Regions from separate parts of the Homo sapiens genome. Here region 2 is linked to region 1. The links are contacts of gene promoters, found by promoter capture Hi-C in blood cells and fetal thymus (Javierre and others, 2016). All regions are on one chromosome and are shown on one strand. The core of a region is centred on a gene start or on the middle of the fragment in contact, and the rest is flanking DNA. Distances in the headings are between cores, read along the strand shown.

Region 1 (7,366 bases), core at 3,909-6,408:
TGTGCAAAGCAGATAATCTACAGCATCTGTTTAGAATGGGAGAGACAGCAAAGAAGTCACAGCTGAGCCCCAAGAAACCCTCAAAATGTGAGCACTTTGTTTATGAATCAGCTGCCTGCTCTATGGCTTGAGAATTAAAGAGCCTCAGCCAGGCTGTGGTCCTCTCCATACACTTAACACAGATGCAGCAACAGTGTAGCAGAAGTTGTGGGAGAAATAAAAACAGCAATCACTGATTGAGAGTCTAACTTCCAGGTACCAGCCTGGTTGTTTTATGTATATTGTTTCATTTAATCCTCATAGACCAAGATAGATGGTCATTTCTTTTTCTTTTTCCAAGCTTCTACCTGAAGTTGAAATAAACCATGAAGAACACCAAGAAGAGAGTTTACTCGGAAGGCCAAGTGATTAAGAAGTACATATCTTTTAGTAGTATGTTTCTATTCTTTGCCGTATTTTAGCATTATAATACTGCTGCTTGCCCTATTTTTTAAAAGTGAAATATTTAGACATATAATATTTATAGCCTTTTAATTGGAAAGTTTTGATGACTCGTTTGTAAGAGTTTAATCAAAGGAGAACAAAAGCTTTATTAACCTGCCTCCTCACCCCCCTTCTTTGCACGATGTGCTTGTTTATTATCTGTTGGAACATACTCCTCATATGGTTTGAAATGAAAGGATGATCCATCTCCTCATTACCAATCCTCTGCTTGGTGATGAAAAACAAAACAAAACATATGAACAAAGGAAAATGCCTTCCTGCCATTTCTCAGCCTTCCCTGTGCTGCTCAGCTGGGATGTTAAAGATCTGGATTTAATGAAAGAAGGTGAGAAGGTGAACGACAACAACAAAAAGCCCTAATGAGCGAATATTTAGTTATACAGGAAGATCACTGAGAAGTGGCAGCAATTTTCTTTGTACCTAATACAACGCAGTATCTCCCAAGGTCAAACAAGCCCATGGCCCTTCCTTCCTTACCCATTCATTGCCTACCCTGGCAACCCACTTCTCCACCTAGAGCAGGTCTCACAAAGTTTAATTTCTGACAGTTGAGTGAAAAAGAATCTCTTTTCCAACACCAACTTGTAGTTCTTGAGAAGCACGCAGAAGTGGTGCAGGAGTTTCTTTCAGTTGCTCGCATCGCTGGTGGAGCAACTCACGAGCAGGCATTTCAGACCTTACGCTGTGGATGGCAGAGCCCCAGCCCAGTCTGCAGGCTTACTGACACTTACCCTTTAGACTGGGAGTGAAGAAGCAGATTCCCATCTAGTAATGCAGAGCCACTGAAAAACAAAATGCTTCAAGGGAGAGCCAATAACAGCTGTCGAAACTCTAAAGCAATGCTCCGAATTAGAATGAAATCGTGTAGTCATAATATCATTCCTAAAATGTCCTTAATCAGTGAGCGTTCCAGCCCTGTAGTGTGAGCATCACACTGAAAATACCAAAGAAAACGTGAGGACCAAACTTGGACCGAACCCCCAAAACTCTAAAAGAGAGTGATGTCGCTTTCCAAACCAGGAAATCATGACTCATCATCCCCAACAGACCACCCATTTGGGGAGTGGGAGAGAAGCACGACAAACCATGGCAAGTTAAAAAAAATAAAATAAAACCAAAAACATCTTGAAGTAGAGCTCCTTTTGGATCCACAGCTATCTCACCAAAGCAGACATGTTTCCTTGATGCTCTATGGCCAGTAGAACTCTTAACACTTTGGCAGGCATAAATTGAGATCTTTCTTTGAAGTTGAAATATGCAGCCTTAACTGTGCTCTCATCCTCTACATTTCACTGAGTGAATAACCTAAATTACACAGAACGGCAGTAAATTGGCTCATCATAGCCCTGTTCTAATTTTAAAAGGATAAGGATCTGAAAAACCAGGCAGCCTAGCACTGAAGGGACTACTGAAGCCTGTTCAGGGGCTGCCGGGGCATTTCCTCAGAAGGTCATGGATTCAAATTCAACCTGGGTTTGTGGTGACCAAGAGCCATTCAGCACTTCATGTTAAATTTATGAATGCTCTCAACATAATGTTCCTAATAGGGAGGCTGACAGCTTGCATTTGTCATTCTTGCTGACTGTCTCAGGAGTACAGTGGATGGCCAACCACATGTGGAAACTAAATCATTTCCTCCCACATAAAGGTGATCCTTGCAAAATGTGAACTCCAAGGTACCGAAGAGCATCTTTCCCTCGCACCATCTGCTGTCTGATCTCTGCCCCTCTTCCAGTTGCCCCAATCCAAGGAAAAAGTACAGCAGCTCTCCTGTCTGTCAGTCTAATACCTTGACGAAAATTTAAAGATGCACATGAAGGCCCACAAGAACAGTATTTGCCAAGGAACATAACTCTCTTGTTTTTGACACAGCATTCACTTGTGGTGATAAAATGCCAGGTCATAAGTCAAATTTTGACTCCATTACTGATTATTATCCTTGAGCTCTAAATGGAAAGTCAGTACAATTCAGCTGTCAGGCTCCAGGTTTCCCCCAACCCTGAACAACAGAATAACAAACTAAACAGTTATCTCGGCTGGAGTCACTACTAGATGAGATTCCGAGTGATTGGCTCTGGCCACAGGTCACACTGGCCCATCAACGATCTTAGGTTTCTGCTTGGAATTTCATAGAATTCAGTGAAGAAACCCAACGTCAATCAGAAGATATTTGGGATGACTTAGAGACACAATAATCAGATTGTTCCTCTTTATGAAAAAGCAAAAGCTGGTGTGGCTGAGTTGAGATACAAGATTTCCATGGAATACCTTTCACAGGTTGATGCTGACCACCACGAAGGTATAGATCAACATGTGGGAAAGTGCTCCTTATAGAAGGAGCACCACCAGGGTGTGTCAGTGTTGTTTAGCTGAGTGATGTTGAACAGCTCTGCCACTCCAACAGCTCACGCCCTCCAGCTACAGGGGAGGGTGGTAGCACCCAAGTGAAATCCTGTGGCCTGAAAGCATTCTAGGAGTCCAGCTCCCCCAGGTTTCTTGTGACTGAAGATGTCCTTATCACAGTCAGAGGAAGCGCTGCCTTGATCCTTTCTTTTAATTACTAGCAGTCATTTGAAACTGAGCTGCCAGGTGGAGGAGAGACTTTGAAGTTATTGTCATCTGGCCTCTTGGGAAATCAGAGTCTGCGAGGTCATAAGGAGAGAAAATTTTTGCAAATATTTCCTACTGCCAGGGGTGTGAGGTGAAGGGAAAATCTAACAACCACGACCCCTAAAAGAAAAAAGCAACAGATGTTGAAGCCTCCTCCCTTTGAATCTTGCGCTGGAGCTGTCTCTGCCATGGAGGTGGGCTAAAAATGCCTGTGAGTAGAGCCTTCCCCAAGCAGCAGGGTTAAGGCTCAGCACTAATCCCACATCTACTATCTATCTCCCAGTCATTCTTCCATCTATCGATGGGTCCATCAGAACTTTATTGATAACCTTTTCTAACCACCCACCTAGTAGGACTTAATCATTTCAGCGGTGGACTCTCTCTCTCAATGGAGTCAAATGGTCATTTGCTTGACGGAAATACTTCTAGTCTAAAGCAGTCTAGGGGGATTTTCAAAAACTGCACTAGTGCTCTGCGGGAAGCCTTTGTACGATTTGGCCTGACGTTTCCAAAACGGTTTTACAGCCTTCCCTCCTCCAGGACCTTGAACTCAACAATCTTCCTTCTTTCCCTGAGAGGCTCGCTTTCACAGATTCTCACCACGTAGTTCAAATATAGGGTCCAGATATAGTACGGTTGCTGTTGGGGTCTGATCAGGGGCGGGAAGACCTGGAGGTCGGTAAAACGGAGCGGTGCGGGATGATGTCTGGGAACACCGGCAAGGTGTCATAAAATGAACGCCAAGGCGGCCACAAGAGGACGGCCGGGAACCGAACCCAGCGCCCAGCACGGGGCCCTTGTGGCCGACGTGACGTGGCTCCGTCAGGTGGAAACCGTGCGATCCTCTCCCGATCCAACTCACGAGAGATAAAGATGTCTAAATAACCACGACCGCCGCCGCACACCCTGCAGGGCCCCGGGGGCGGAGGGGAGGGGAGCGCCTCCTCGGCAGAAGCGGCGGCCCAGGCTTGTTTGGAGGTTCGCAATTCACCATGATAAATGTAAAGACCAATTAAGGTTTGATCCGTGCACACAGGAGGCAGACGGCGGCTGATAGTGGAAACAATTAACGAGCATGTCCCCTAATTCCTGCCGCGGCTGCTGAGCACACCGCGGCTCCCCAGGCGCCCGCCGCTGCCGCCCCCGAGTCCCAGAGCCCCCAGTCCGGCCCTGGAGTGGGGCGTCCTCCTCCAGCGAAAAGGTGCGAGGAGCGGGGCCCCGGGTGGCCGGGGAGGGGGCGCGCCGGGCCGGGAGGCGCGGAGCCAGCCGCCTACGGAGCCCAACTGTTTGCATCGGGGACCGGCGGGCGGGGCGCGCCCGAGTGGTCTCGCCGGGAAAGGGCGGCGGGCGCTGGAGAAGGCGCCTGGCGCGAAGCTGGGCGGCGCCCCGAGGGCGGAGGACAGGTGGCCGCGCGACCGCAGCCAGGTAGCGAACGGCTCGGGGGCTGCGCAGCGCGGTCCCAAAGCTCAGCCCGGCCCCGGGCCCAGCTCGCTGCCGCCTGCCACGGGAGCGGCCTTGCGCGGAGGGAGGGGGCGCGAGACCGCACCCCCGGGCCCGGCGCGCCTCGGCCTCTGGGCTCCCGCTCCCCTTCCCCTTCCGGCTCAGCCCGCTGCCCCAGACGTGACCCCCGCGGAAGGTGTTGGCGATGCGCGCTGCCCGGGAGCGTGTGATTAATGGCCCCGAGGTCGTGGGCGGCGCATGCACCAGCCCCTTCTTGGCCTGGTCAGGGTGTGAGGGTATCCGGGAGCACAGCGAGGTCATGGCAGCGGGGGCCTCCGGGAGCGCGGCGGCGGAGGAGGAGGAGGAAGAGGAGAAGTAGGTGACGCGGGCCGAAGAGGCTTGTCCCCTCTGGCCCCAGGGCTGGCGCCGCGGCGGGTCCCCCGCCCCAAGCAAAGTTTGGGGCTACGGGCGCTGCGCTCAGGTCCCTCCCCGCGCAGTTCCCTCGGCGGGGTCTGTGCCGCCGCCGCTGCCAGGGCAGGACAAAGGCTCATTAACACGTGATGGGACCGCGCTTCATAAATGGGACTGGAGCGAGAGGGAGCCAGAGACAGCGCGAGCGGAGGGAGCGGCAGGGACTGCGCGAGCGGGACGAGGCGACGGGCGCCCGGGCTGGCGGAGACGGGCGGCCCCACGCCGGGCCAGGCGGGGCTCGCGGGAGGACCCAGTGAAGAGCCTGGGAAGGGGCGAGGCTCGCCGGCGGTCGGAGCAGCGGGGCGCCAGTCCCGGTCGCTGTCGCGGGCGGGCGCTGGAGACCGGGACGCCGGCGCTCGGACGGACTGACTTGCTGACCGCCCGCCGGAGGCACACCCCACTCCACCCCACCCCGCCTCGCCAGCAGCCCGGCGCCGGCGCCGCCTCCCGCACGCTACTCCCTCTGCCACCCCTTCCTTCTCCACTTCTTTTCCGCCTCCGCCTCTTCTTGTCTCCCGCGGCGCCAGCGCCTTCCCTTGGCCCGGGCGGGGGCCTCGGCTCCCTGCAGAGCTCTCCGTAGTCAGTGGGGGATATTTCGTTCTAGCGGACAACCAGCCCCTGAGCTGGGCGAGAGGTGCCAAGGGAGCTTCTGTCCCGAGGACCAGGGGATGCGAAGGGTAAGACCTGGCAGAGTTGCGTTTGGAAATACTTTTTCCGCCTCCCGCCCCCTCGGGTACGACCAGTGTGGTCCCCAAGTGTCCTTCGTGGAGTTCTTATTCCGTGTGAGCGAATCGTGCGTCGGTGTTTACTTAGCTGTATGGCCCCAGCCTGTTAACTGTGATCTGTTCTACTTCTGGAGATTTCTACCATTTACTATTTATTGAATGTGTGTGCACCTGGCTCTGTATGCACTGATGTCTGTTTGTAGAAAATGGGTAATTGTGCATGTTTGAAAAACGGGCGCTTGAGTTGGTGCTGAATGCCTATAAACCATGTTAGCAGCTAAGTCTTCCCAGGGAAATACATCGATCTCTGCTGCAAGCCTAGAAACTGACTAATGTAAAATAGTAAATGTCATATAAAGAGATGTATGTCAAATAATAAACTTTTGATAAAAAGCTACAGGAACCACTTCTCTTTGAGGAAAAACAAATGTCCATGTAACTAATACCTAAAATTGAATGTTGATGGAACCGTTTAACTCAGAACTAGCTGTTAGATGACTAAAGTTAATGTTGCATTTTTAAAAGACATTTCTTGTTAAGGCTTACAAATCATAAACGGATCACCTCTCAAATAAAAATATGTTTGCTGTAATAGACATGAGAAACTGTCATTTGGTCATTTGGAAGTTTAAAAGCAACATGCATGTTTCTGATTTTAATAGATTGTCTCTCAGATATTTAAAATTGAACAGATAAAAAAACAAAAGAAATGTTTAGTAACGTATTAATCATTTTGCCTCCCATCTTTTTTTATTTTCCTCCAAATAAGTGCTATTCTTGCCTTTGTTGTTGATTTCCTGATATAGTAAGCCTCCTCGGGCATGTAATCCAATAAGAGATTAGAACAGATTTACTGGTTTTAAAGGTGTTGAAAGATATCTCTGTGGGTCCCATAACTTCTCCTCATTTTTATTACCAAGTTAATATCTTTTGAACAATGGGGGAAATGCAATTTCTTAGAGGAAGCTTAGCGGACACTGAGTATTAGTGGGGTCACCACTGACATCAATCTATTTTGCAGAATATTGAGAAGCTCAGAGCAACCAACCTTTAAGGTTCCCATAGGACTTTATGTGATTTAAAGTGTTGCTTTTCTAATCCTACCCTACTGACAGTTTGCAAGGGAAGATACACTAATTGATTTTTCTCTGTCCTTTTTTTCCCTGGTACTCCTCCCCCTCCCCCGCTCTCTAACTCAGTTAAGAGCAATTTTATAAAAATAAAAGGCCATTTATAGTTTCTTAAGTGAGACAAATTACTTTCAGATTATATCCATACATGAGCAGAAGACATGCACCTCCAGAATTTTAAACATTGCATACTACAGGCACTTATTTGTAGGCACAATGGCAGTTACCATAGTGGGGCAAGAGACTTGATGTGGGACATGGTTTTAAAAAACTAATCCATTTTAGCTTATCAGGAGAACTTACTGTAAACCGACTCTTTTTGTTTCAAAGATGTCTCCCACTCCAGGCGAGGAGCGCTCTTGGCTGAGGTATGTATCAAGTGTCTGATGGGGAGAGGTCTCATTGTGTTTCTCAGTGTCCATGGGGGTACAATGATGCCACAAGGTGGAAATACCCAATTCTGGCCTTTCACAAATAAAATTACTG
Region 2 (7,357 bases), core at 3,971-6,470, 610 kb before region 1:
CCAGTAACTGGTGAAAAGTGAAAAACTCAGTCGATGTTAGCCCTTAGAAGTTATTGCTGCCTTAATTATTCTGTGTAAAGGGCATAGTAGGGGATAAAACTAGAGAGGATGAATAAGGCTAGGTAAGTGGGCACGGGGAGGTGGTCTTTGGTTGTTAGGTTGAGAAGCTTGTATTATTTTCAGTAAACCATCTAACCAGATGGATTCAGGATCAGTTGTATTTGATAGGGCCTGTTGATAATAGGGATAACAGTTAGGTTGATCACAATAGCCTGGGTGAAAAAGTAATAGAGATAATTGGTGGAATATGGAATTGGTAGAGATCGCATCAAAGATGATTCGAGAGTTTTGAACCTTTCTGGTTAGGAGCATTATGTTAATCAGAAATGGAAATCAGAATGGAGATGAACTAGTTTTTTGTTTAAGAATATAAATGATTCAGTTTTAGATTTAAAACTTTAGGCTGCCTTTAGGGTACTAATGAATAAGCCAGTGCCTGGCATACTTTTATTTGGGAGAAAGTTAGGACAAAAGATGAAGATTTGGGAGTAATTTTCATTGTAAGTGTATTTGGAGTCTTAGAGGAGTGGATGCTGTATAATGTGTAACAGTGAAAAGACAAATAATAGATTCTTGAAGAATGTGCGTTCATAATTGATTCCATTGTTTTACTGTCTCTAGTAGCATTACTGTCTAGGATTTCTAAAGTTTTCTTTAAAAATAAATGCTGTAATAAAACTAATATTATAGTAAGGACAGGGATCTTTCTTAGCTTCAGATGTGATCTTTGTGAAGAAGGCATTATGTCTCAGGTTTTACTGTAGAACCTGGTGATAACTACTCACATTTTACTAGTGGAAATAATAGAATAACATAAGCCTGCAAGGTGTTTTTAGATATCTCTGGTCTAGATATCCTGTTTTAGGCAAGCAAAATGCTATTATTGCATTTTTACAAATGAGATAGATAAAGCCCACTTTGAACTTGCTTAAAATAATTACGTTAGTAGAGGCAAAGAGGGACTAAATACGTTGCTCCTTTGCCGTTACTAATGCTAGCTTCATTTACATCAGGTTTTCTCAGCCTTGGCACCATTGACATTTTGGGCTAGAATTCTTTGTTGTGGGCAGCTGCCCTGTGCTTTGTAGGATGTTTAGTAGCATATCTAGCCTTTAACCACTAGATGGCAGTAGCACCCCCTCCCCACCTCTTGTTCAACCAAAAATGTCTCCACGCATTGCCAAATATCCCTTGGAGGCAAAATCTCCCCTAGTTGAGAACCAGTGCTTTACACCACAAATATATATCATGTATACCTCCAGTTAGCTTCCTGTCCACCTTAGTTTTACAGACTTCTCTTTGGCATATGGCCATCTTCTACCTCTAAGCCAGGTTCTGTTCTCATCTGGTCAACACTTTCTTAAGCATCTTATTTTGCTGCCTGACGTTTACATTTATTATGTTTTTGACTTTACAATGGCAATGGATATCTTGGGTTATATTGGTAATTACGTTTACACCTAACATATCCCCAGTTTTTTTTTGACAGCTCACCTCATACAATCAGATTTATTTCTATAAACTAAGTATTGTATTTATCAGTTAACTATAGCTCTGATAATTATTTTAACCTAGATACATGCTGGTAAATTGAATTATATTACTCTGACTATACACGAGAACATGTAGAATGGTGTTTTTATATCCTTGTTTATAGTTCAGCAAGATTCTGTATTTCAAGTTTGATAAATCATAAATATTTATTTCTAAAAGGCTTATTCAGTTTCTGTATTTGTAATATATTTGCTCTTATTATTTTGGGGATCATGAAAAAGGGATTATTTGGTAGTGATTTATATAATCTTTCATAAATATTGTTAGCTTATTTCATAATCTCAGATATTTCATTTTTAAATTAAGTGTACCTGAGACAGATATTTTTGTAGTAAGTTTTGAAATTCTGTATTTTTAATTATTTTATTAAAGTATTTGAGCATTTTACTAGGTGTTTTGTAGGCACAAAATTGATGTGATTTTTTCTGAAGTAGAATTACATTCTAATGGGTATTTCAATATATTTTACTCATAGAATCTGTGTCATTGTTGAATCTACATTCAATAACTGGGAGCTACAGTATTCTTAAAATACCATTTTCTAGATTAATTAATTAATTTATTTATTTGAGACAGAGTCTCACCCTATTGCCCAGGCTGGCGTGCAGTGGTGTGATCTTGACTCACTGCAACCTCTGCCTTTCAGGTTCAAGCAATTTTCCTGCCTTGGCCCCCCCAGGTGGCTGGGACTACAAACATGCACCACCATGCCTAGCTAATTTTTGCATTTTTAGTAGAGATGGTGTTTCATCATGTTGGCCAGGCTGGTCTTGAACTCCTGACCTCAGGTGATCTGCCCGCCTTGGCTTCTCAAAGTGCTGGGATTACAGACGTGAGCCACTGCACCTGGCCCCATTTTCTAAAATTTTATAATCATTAATTTTCATAAAGGTGCTTTGAAATTCCTAATAATATCAAGTCTAGTATTCCAAATTAATATGAATGATTTGATGTGCAATGAGATGAGGAGTTACTTAAGTTTCTGAATTATTGCTGTGTAAAAACAGAAGAGTTGATACATGTTGTTTTCTTATTAGACAAAATTGAGTCTTGATTTCCAGGCAAGAGAATGTGAATGATATTTAATATCTGTTATATAAATAAAATTACATATTAAAGCTTTTTAGAATTTATCATTAGGTACCTATTAGGAGATATTTTAAAACTATACCATCATTCAACTTTTCTAGATTTAATAACTTAGATTGATATTGGTTTCTAAGTGTTCTTGTAGTCACTTACTATAAACAAGTAGGAAACGGAACTAAAGGATGATTTGCCTGTAAGTATGAAATTTCCTTGGCAGAGGTTGCAAATGCGGTGGGATGTGCATAGTGTGTTTCAAGCTACACAAACTTACTCTTTTTCTTGGGCCTATTCTCTCTTGCTGACACTCCTTTCTCCCCTTACTTTTTTTGACCCTTTACTACTGTAATGAGCCACTGTTACTTAAAGGCCTGTGACTTTTCTGTCAAATAAGCTTTACTAGGAAAATGACTATATTTTATCAGATTCTCTTCACTAATGGGTTGACAATGGGAAAATGTTGCAGTTTCAACATTCCAAAAAAACTTTCTAAAGAGATTTATTTGTGATTATCCTGAAGCATGTATGTTACCTAAATAAATCTCTCAGGGCAAATATATGGAAGAAAATTTCCACTGAAAAATTATATATTTGATTTTATACTTACTCATGCTTCAATACAAAACTTGAGGGAAAATAATGTGCATTATTTTCTTACACGTGGCACAGTTAAAAGGTGTTTCCTATCAATTCCAATGATTTTTTCTTTCTTAGCAAAACTTAAATTATATTGAATCGTCATTGTATGGACTTCCGTTTGAAGTAAGCAATCCTGTGATTATGATTTTTGCAGTTTTAAATAATTTATAAAAATCTGTTTGAGCTGGGTGCAATGGATTGCACCCTTCGTCTCAGCTACTCAGGAGGCTGTGGTGGGAGAATTGCTTAAACTCAGGAGTTCAAGGCTGCAGTGCTGTGACTGCACCTGTGAATAGCCACTGCATTCTAGCTTGGGCAAGATAGCAAGACTCCATATCTAATTTTAAAAATTAAATTAAAAATTTGTTAGAATGCAATTTGACTTGGATAATTTAAAAATACTAGTATTGGACACTTAGCAATTTTTCCTTCCTAAGTATTTTTCTTATAATATGGCCCCACCCTCCATAATGCACACACTGAATTGGGAGACTTGCCTCTCCTTTAGCACATCCTATATTTCTCTACTCCTGTTTTTTTGCCCATATTTACTTCATGCTGCAAATCTGCATGAGTGAATATTACCCATCCTTCAAGGCTTACAATGTTCATTCCTCTATAATCAATTTTAAGACACTCAGGTAATACCTTTTCTTTTTTTACTTTGTACTCAGAATACATTTAAAATCCCCAAGTGAGATTTATCCCTGGGTTACAAGGTTGGTATAAACATATGCAGATCAATCAATATGATATACCACAGTAACAGAATAAAAGCTAAAACCACATGATCATCTCCACAGATTCATACAAAGCATTTGGCAAAGTTCAACATCTTTTGGGACAAAAACTTCCAATAAAATAGGTATAGAAGAAAATTTTCTCAACACAAAGGCCATTTATGAAAAGGCCACAGCTAGCATCACAATTAATGGGGAAGAACTAAAAGCTTTTCCTGTAAAATCCGGTACAAGGCAAGGATTCCCCATCTTGGTGCTTCTATTCAACATAATACTGGAGCTACTAGTAAGAGCAATCAGACAAGAAAAAGAAACAACAGGCATCTAAAATGGAAAACAAGTAGTAGAATTATCTCTGTTTGCAGATGACATGATCCTATATGTAGAAAAAGACTGTTACATCAAAAAAACCTGTTAATTCAATAAAGTTGTGGGATGCAAAGTTAACATACAGAAATCAGTTACATTTCTTTACACCAATCGATAACAGCCTATCTGAAAAGAGAATGAAGAAAACAATCTCATTTACAATAGCATCAAAAAGAATAAAATACCTAGGAATAAATTTAACCAAGATGGAAGAAATTGAAGATGATACACATAAATAGAAAGATATTCCATGTTAATGAATTGGAAGATTTACATTGTTAAGATGTCCATACTACCCAAAGTGATACACAGATTTGGTGCAATCCCTATCCAAATACCAATGACATTTTTTACAGAACTAGAGAAAAACAATTCTAAAATTTGTAGGGGACTAAAAACCCTGAAAAAGCCAAAGCAATTTTGAGAAAGAAGAACAAAGTTGGAAGCATCACACTTCCTGGTTTCAAGTTATATTACTAAGCTCCAGTAATTAAAATGGTGTAGTACTGAAATAGAAACATACACATAGACCAGTGGACCAGAATAGAGGGCCCAGAAATAAACCCAAGCATGTATGTTCAAATTTTTGACATGGGCACCAAGAATACACAATGGGGAGAAGATAATCTTTTCAGTAAATGATGTTGGGGAAGCTTGAATATCCATATACAAAAGAATGAAATTGGACCCTTATACCATACACAAAAATCCACTTAAAATAGATCAAATGCCTAACTGTAACACTTGAAACTGTAAAACTCCTAGAAGAAAACATAGTGGAAAAGCTCCTTGATGTTGGTCTTGGCAATGATCTTTTTGATGTTACATCAAAAGCTCAGCCAACAACAGCAATAATACACAACTGGGACTACATGAAACTAAAAAGCTTCTGCACAACAGGAAACAATCAACAAAATGAAAAGGCAGATTGGGAGAAAATATTTGCAAAGCACATATCTGATAAGGGGATATCTATAATATTAAAGGAATTCACAACTCAGTAGCAAAAAACAAAACAAAAACAAATAATCCAAGGACTTGAATAGACTTTTTTTTTTTTTTTTCCAAAGAAGCCATGAAAGTGGTCAACAGGTGGCTGGGCATGGTGGCTCATGCCTGTAATCTCAACACTTTGGGAGGCCAAGGTGGGTAGATCACCTGAGGTCAGGAGTTTGAGACCAGCCTGAACAACATGGAGAAACCCCATCTCTACTAAAAAAAAGAAGAAAAAAAAATGCAAAATTAGCTGGGCCTGCTGGCACATGCCTGTAATCTCAGCTACTTGGGAGGCTGAGGCAGGAGAATCACTTGAACCTGGGAGGCGGAGGTTGCGGTGAGCTGAGATTGCGCCACTGCACTCCAGCCTGGGCAACGAGAGGGAAACTCCGTCTCAAAAAAAAAAAAAAAGGTCAAAAGGTGTATGAAAAGGTGCTCAACATCACCAGTCACAGAGAAATGAAAATTAAAACGTCATTGAGATATTACCTCATGCATATTAAGATGGCTATTATCGAAAATACAAGATAACATACAAAATAGTTGGTGAAGGTGTGGAGAGTAAGGGTGTCCCACTGTTGGTAGGAATGTAAATTGGTACAACCATTATGGAAAACAGTATGGAGGCTCCTCAAACGATTAAAAACAAAACTAATATATGACTCAGCAGTTCCTCTGAGTATATACCAAAAGAAATGAAATTAGTACCTCATAGAGAAATGTATGCCCCCATGTTCATTACAGCATTATTTCCAACAGCCTGCATATGGAAACCACCTAAATGTCCTTCAGTGGGTCAATGAATTAAGAAATTATGGTATATTTATGCAACAGAATATTATTCAGGCTTAGAAAAAAAGATCCTGTCATTTATAACAACATGGATGGAGCTGGAGGGCATTGTACTAAGCAAGATCAGCCAGACACAGAAAGAGAAATGGTGTGTGATTTCACTTACATGTGGAATCTCAAAAAGTTGAGTACACAGAAACAGAATGCAAAAAACACCTATTATGAAGCTACTTGGTTAATAAGCTCTTTTAAATGGGGGAGAAACAAACCCAGTTGGTAACTCATTAATAACAACTTTTGATTATAGGTGATAAACTAATTCTGTACCTCCTTATTATAATTGAAACAGATATAAATTACTCTGTCAGTTCTAACTGTACCGTCTTCTGTGGTTAGAAATATAAAAAAATTAGCAAGCTCAGGTCAGAGGGAGAGCATGCTTTTTATCCCCCCTCTCAGTTGTGGGTATTCAAAGGGATTTGTTTTGTTGAAACTAGAAGCTACTGTTCAGGACTAGGAAGAAGGTTATCAGTGCTGAGGATGGGGGAGTTGGGGAGATGTAGGTTAAAGAGCACAAATTTGCAGTTACGTAGGCTGAATAAATCTGGAGGTCTAATGTACAGCACAATGACTGTACTTAATAATATTGTTTTATATACTGGAAGTTTGCCAAGAGAGTAGATTTCAGATGTTCTTGACACACATGTACACACATACAAGGTAACTGTGAGGAGATGGATAATGTTAATTTGCTTTACCATAGTAATCATTTCACTGTGTATATCAAACATTGTGTTATAATGTTATATACTTTACATATCAAAAAATTTCAATTAATTTTTCATTCTGTTGAGTAAATGCATTCCAATTAGGATACCTATAAAGTGAATATACAAATATATTGATTAGTGTGATTTATTTATATTTACATATTATATACATTAGGAAGTTATAATGCTTAAGAACACAATTATTTACAAAGCTTTTGTTTATTAAAATAATTTTTATAATCTCTAATTACATGGACAGTGTTGTACAACCACCTCCACTGTCTATTTCCAAAACCTTTTCATCATCCCAAACAGAAATCATTTAACCACTAAGCAGTAACTTCCATTTTC

The links. The method cuts DNA at HindIII sites, captures the fragments that hold promoters and counts their contacts. A CHiCAGO score of 5 or more calls a contact.
Region 2: a contact is called between a fragment that was not itself captured here and the fragment with the promoter of CNR1 in region 1, in 2 of 17 cell types (naive B cells and total B cells). The highest score is 7.3, in naive B cells.

Annotation. Positions count from the first base shown.
Region 1 is chr6:88,164,139-88,171,504 of GRCh38, reverse strand. It overlaps CNR1 (cannabinoid receptor 1), which reads left to right and starts at 5,158. Exons shown (of 2, transcript NM_016083.6): 1 at 5,158-5,702. RefSeq lists silencers at 4,032-4,231, 4,302-4,741, 4,802-5,481. The HindIII fragment of the contact is 6,129 bases long and covers 590-6,718 here.
Region 2 is chr6:88,774,820-88,782,176 of GRCh38, reverse strand. The region is part of intron 12 of RNGTT (RNA guanylyltransferase and 5'-phosphatase); the gene reads left to right. Among named protein-coding and RNA genes, the nearest start is that of RNGTT, 190 kb to the left of the region's middle. The HindIII fragment of the contact is 233 bases long and covers 5,104-5,336 here.